Linked DNA regions of Homo sapiens: region 2 is linked to region 1. The links are contacts of gene promoters, found by promoter capture Hi-C in blood cells and fetal thymus (Javierre and others, 2016). All regions are on one chromosome and are shown on one strand. The core of a region is centred on a gene start or on the middle of the fragment in contact, and the rest is flanking DNA. Distances in the headings are between cores, read along the strand shown.

Evidence for each region. The method cuts DNA at HindIII sites, captures the fragments that hold promoters and counts their contacts. A CHiCAGO score of 5 or more calls a contact.
Region 2: the fragment with the promoter of RAB24 here is called in contact with a fragment that was not itself captured in region 1 in 2 of 17 cell types (erythroblasts and megakaryocytes); the score reaches 6.0 in erythroblasts.

Annotation. Positions count from the first base shown.
Region 1 is chr5:177,347,050-177,349,749 of GRCh38, forward strand. All of the region lies in intron 2 of LMAN2 (lectin, mannose binding 2), which reads right to left. Among named protein-coding and RNA genes, the nearest start is that of LMAN2, 3.3 kb to the right of the region's middle. The HindIII fragment of the contact is 1,479 bases long and covers 546-2,024 here.
Region 2 is chr5:177,302,161-177,304,968 of GRCh38, forward strand. RAB24 (RAB24, member RAS oncogene family) reads right to left here and starts at 1,559. Exons shown (of 8, transcript NM_001031677.4): 1 at 1,012-1,559; 2 at 849-917; 3 at 592-670; 4 at 417-484; 5 at 237-336; 6 at 1-18. The coding sequence starts at 1,128. It overlaps PRELID1 (PRELI domain containing 1), which reads left to right and starts at 1,639. Exons shown (of 5, transcript NM_013237.4): 1 at 1,639-1,917; 2 at 2,465-2,690. The coding sequence starts at 1,826. RefSeq lists enhancers at 1-449, 1,614-2,491, 2,130-2,229, 2,340-2,389, 2,410-2,469 and 2 more and silencers at 1,450-1,519, 1,570-1,649, 1,760-1,899. The HindIII fragment of the contact is 8,255 bases long and covers 1-2,428 here.

The DNA of each region.
Region 1 (2,700 bases), core at 35-2,534:
ATCAGCTATCTAACAATAATAAACAATTTTAAAAGATAACTAAAATAGCCCTCATATATTTGAAAACTTTAAAAAAAAATATCTCACATGTACAAAAGTCAGCCCAGAAACCAGATTTCAAATGGTCTCTTTGGTGCCCAGGAGTTTTCTGCACCTGGGGACAACACCCTGAAGAAAGACCAGGCTGTTGGGAGGCTGACCTCAGAGCAGAAGGGCAACTGAGTGAGGGAGGTGGGAAAGGAAAACCCACACACCCATTCCCAGCATGTTCACGGGGAGGCTGGTTTCAGGAATGAGCACATGAGACAGTGGAGGACCTGGAAACAGACTCCTCCAGGACTACGCAGGCCTTGGAAAGTCTTCATGACCCCAGATTAAAACTGCAGATTAGTAGAGACATACTATGATACAGACAATAGAAGGCCTCTGGAGGATCTTAAGCAGGCAAGGCACAGGCTGGAAATGATTCAGAAGCTGCTTTTGGGGACAAACACGATATGACCACAGTTCTTAACCCACAGCAAACCCACCTGGGGAGCTCAGAAAGCTTAATGCCTTGGTCCTACACCAGGCCAACTACATCAGAATCACCTGGCAATAAGAGGCTATTTTACAGTTCAGCAGTTTCCACATCTCTGCTTGCAACGAAACGGAATGCAGATGTAATCAACAGTCAGCCGAAACATCATCAAAAATTTTGATAAAAGATCACTGCATGACGTTGGGTTTATAAACCAAAAGAAGATCAAAATATTCAGTGATGCTGCTCTACCAAAACTCCCGCTGTGCCAGGCACAGTGGTGGTGAGCACCTGTGTCCCAGATACTCAGAGGCTGAGGTGGGAAGATTGCTTGAGTCCAAGAGTTCAAGATAAGACTGGGCAACATAGTAAGATCCCATCTATAATAGAAATTTAAAATTTTAAAAATAACCCCATCTCCAACTACTATTTAAGAGAACACAGTTTCTCAGAATTCATGTACATAAAAACAAAAAGTAGAAGTGGTACTGAACTTGTCTTATTCTGACAGTATTATCCATCCAGATGGGGGTGGGGGGTGACATCCTACTGAGATCTCATGTTTCAAAAAATGTTTACTTTTGTATAATTACTCAAAAACTGTGTAATGCATTTACTTTTATCAAGTGTGTACAGATAATTATAATAATCTCAAACAAAATATTAAAAGTTTCAGTCTCAACAAAATTGAAAAGTTTAAATTATTATATTAATTTTACTTGCAGAAGAATATGGTAGGCTAATGAATAACATTTTCAAGCATTAAATATATTGCATTAGGATAATATTCTGTGTGGAAATGAAAGTACAAGTTCAATTAAAAAACTGACATACTGGCCAGGCACAGTGGCTCACACCTGTAATCCTAGCACTTTGGGAGGCCGAGGTGGGCAGATCACTTGAGGCCAGGAGTCGGAGACCAGCCTCGCAAACATGGCAAAACCTCATCTCTACTAAAAATACAAAAAATTAGCTGGACATGGCAGTGCGCGCCTGTAATCCCAGCTACTGGGGAGGCTGAGGCAGAAGAATCGCTTGAACTCGTGAGGTGGAGGTTGCAGTGAGCTGAGATCGCACCACTGCATTCCAGCCTGGGTGATAGAGCATGACTCTGTCTCAAAAAAAAAAAAAAAAAAAAAAAAAACCTCTACTAAAAACACAAAAACTAGCTGGGCGTGGTGGTGCACACCTGTAATTCCAGCTACTCAGGGGGCTGAGGCAGGAGAATCACTTGAACCAGGAAGGCGGAAGTTGCAGTGAGCCGAGACTGCGCCACTGCCCTCCAGCCTGGGTGACAGAACAAGACTCCGTCTCAAAAAAAAAAAAAAAAAAAGTGGATATCAAATTGCAATATTTAGATTCCACTGAATGTTTAAAATACTGAACAGTTTTAGTTTAAAATGTCAATATTTAAAATATGCTGTCATCCTTTGCAAATACTTAAACCTAATGACAAACAATTTTTGATGCCAACTTTTCAAAAGGTTGCTACAACAGCAAAGAAAGCTTAAAGACCACTGCCGCAGCCTCCGCACAAGACCCCCAAAAGGACAGGGCCTGAGCAGCCTCCCCAGGTCCTATGCTGCAGCCACCAGGCACTTAAGAGTTCTAGTCAACTCTGAGCCACTCCTTCATCTAGACCACCCCCCCTGCACCACAGCAGGAGCTATTTTATGGCTGCTCAGAAGACAGCAGGTGTTCAGGGAATGTTCGCCTGAGTGCATGCCTCTCCCGGATGGAGTGAATGAAGGAGATAAAAAAGGGAAAAGTTTAGGAAGCATCTCTCCAGCTCATTAAAGGAAGAGGCAGTTCTTGGGAAACACTGAACAGAAAATTCTGATTTCCAAGCCATTTCTTTCCAGAGTTTACAGGAAGCACTCCAAATGTTTCAGGAATATCAGCAGAGCCAAATAGAAAGGTGGAGGAAGGAAGGCAAAACAATTGTACTCCAGACTGAAAATTCGATGAAGGCAAGTGCAGAAGCCTCTCAGTCCTGTGACATCCTCGAGCCACTGATGATGCCAACCATCAGCTATCTACAACCAAAATGTAAGCCACTGTCTTAGATGCGTCTATTACTTGTGGCTACTCCTGATTTCTACAGTTCCAGCACTGTTTGCACCTTGCTTTCAAAAAATAATAATAATGCTATACTGAACTCATTTCCATGAAAAATATAA
Region 2 (2,808 bases), core at 309-2,808, 45 kb before region 1:
AGAGCTGAGCTTTGATATCTGTAAAGAGAAGTGACTAAAGCCTCATACCTGAGAATTAGATAAACAGACAAAAGGGAGGGCTAGCAGTTCAGGGAGTCTCCTGGACCCCACAGTTCAAGGAGGCCAGGAAGACCTCCTAGAGCACCTTGCCCTGGCAGCCAAGGCAGTCCCTATTTTCTTTGATCCACCCAGACAGCCACACACCCCCACCCCCCAAAGGGCTGAGGAGCAGCTACTGTCTGCATAGTCCTGGACGTCGTGGAAGTCCACACGTCGACGCCTCCGGTCTTCTTCCAGCAGGTCACTCTTGGTGCCACATAAGTAGATTTGGCAGCCCTGAGGCAGAAGACAAGGGTCACCTCCACAGGCCAACAAAACCCCAGCCCCTAGTGTTCTAGTGAGGTCTGTTCACCTACCTCCTCTAGGCTGCGCAGTTCCTTCACCCAGAACTTTGCTCGCTCAAAGCTGCTGCTGTCTGTGAGGTCTTGGTGTGCGGCATGCAGGAGACAACCAAGTGGTCAAGGGCTGTTCTCTGGCTAGCCTGGCACCCATCTTTTCTTGTGAGACAGCCCAAACCCCCCCCCCCCTTACCATAGCAGACGATGGCAGCCTTGGCACCCCGATAGTAGATTCTACTCATGGCCTCATAGCGCTCAGAGCCTGCTGTGTCCTAAAGAGTAAGGCCTGAGTCAAACTTAAGGCCACGTTCTCCAGACCCCGCTATTTTCCAGATAAGGAAACGGGTCTATGAGAAATGGGTCTGTGAGGCCACAAATCAACCAGTAATAGGCAGGACCTACACCTCCTCAGGAATGAGTCTCCCAAGAATAGATGGCCGGGGGACTTACCCAAATACCTAATGTCACAGTCCGGTCTCCGACCGACATCACCTTGGCCACGAAGGCGGCCCCGATGGTCTGCAACGAGAGGGAAGAGATCGGGGCCATAGGTGCAGATTACCGGCCCCCCACTCCCCCGCCCACCGTGCCTGGCCCCTCCGGATGCACTCACGTTCTGATAAGGCCCCACCAGAAAGCGGTCGTGCACGTAGCGCTCCACCAGGCTAGTCTTGCCCACGTACTCCTTGCCCAGCATCACCACCTTGACGTCCACGCGCTGCCCGCTCATGCTCCCGGGGCCGCTTCAGCCACGTCAGGGTCCTGAGCGGGGACGGGAGGCAAACCCCGATCTCCGCTCGGCCCAGGCAGCGCCCAAGCCTCAGACCCCGACCCCAAACGGCGCCAACCTACGACTCCAGACAGCGCGTCGGGCTCGAGCTCTGGCCGTGGCCTTGCACTTCGGCAGCGCCCCGTGTGCCCCCGCTGTTCGGCCCCGGGCGCCGATTATCCTTCGAAGACCCCAAGCCTCGGGGCGGCCTGGGAGCGCGCGGGACAGCGTCCTCAACAGCGCAGCACGCCGCCGTGCAGCTCGCTACTCCGTCATTCGCTCGCCTGCCCGGCTTAAGCTCCGTTCTGGCTGGGAATCCCAACCGAACCTGGGGTCTCCCGCAACCCGGCTCCTACCCGCAGCGCCGCGACTCCCGCGGGAGGGGGCTAGAGGGCGAGGGGGCGGGGCCGCAAGGTCACGTGGCGCGGGCGCCGGAAGCGGTGGCTACTGTGTGGCTGCGCCGGAAGTGGCGCGCGGCCGGACAACTCATGGCGGCGGCGGCGGCGGCGGCAGCTGCTTGGGCGCGGTGCGGTGGTGACTGAGCTACGAGCCTGGCGGCGGGTGTGCGCCGAGCCCCGGCCCGGCCCGGCCCTCGCGTGCCTCCCAGGCTCCGCACCCCTGATGCTGCGCGGGTGCTGAGCCCGCTTCGGCCGGGACGATGGTGAAGTATTTCCTGGGCCAGAGCGTGCTCCGGAGTTCCTGGGACCAAGTGTTCGCCGCCTTCTGGCAGCGGTACCCGAATCCCTATAGGTACGTGGTATTTGGAAGAGCAAAACCGCGCCATCTCGCTATCTGGAGATCGAATTATGGGTAACCCCCAAGTACTGGGACCAGGAAGGACTCGATATCGAATCCTAGGTAGACCTTATCGGGGAAGCGGCCAGGCCAGGCCTGCAAGGTCCTGAAGGGAGGTTGGGCCTGGGTGGTGGTTTACTTGAGACCTTAGTGTAAGATTCTTTTCTCAGTGTGGTGAGACAAGAAGAGGCGGCAGTATGGGAGTTGGGAGGGATCTTGGAGTTGGAAATCCTATTTCTCTGCCCGTGGCGCTTTCCTGGGGTGCAATAAATCATGAGGTCCATTCCTGCTAGAAGGCAGGAATCCAGGTCAGTCAGATGGCGGGAGTGGGAATTTGCCCTGGGATGGGCCCTTAACTCTGGTTTGAACCATAGCACATACCACCCTGCAAGGTTACGGGAAGGCGTGGCCTCTCTAGGCCCGGAGCCTCCAAATGGGAATCCCCTCGGGCAGTCTCTTAGGGGCAAGCTTCTGAGGGTCACCTTCACCCTGACACCTGCAGCAAACATGTCTTGACGGAAGACATAGTACACCGGGAGGTGACCCCTGACCAGAAACTGCTGTCCCGGCGACTCCTGACCAAGACCAACAGGATGCCACGCTGGGCCGAGCGACTATTTCCTGCCAATGTTGCTCACTCGGTGTACGTCCTGGAGGACTCTATTGTGGACCCACAGAATCAGACCATGACTACCTTCACCTGGAACATCAACCACGCCCGGCTGATGGTGAGACACCTCCTGTTGTGATTCTGCACCTCCCCCTCTCCCCTCCCCCCGAGATAGAGAGCTCCTCAGATACATGTGGCTAGAGAGCCATAAGGCAGCTTTTGTGGCCGGAGGCAGG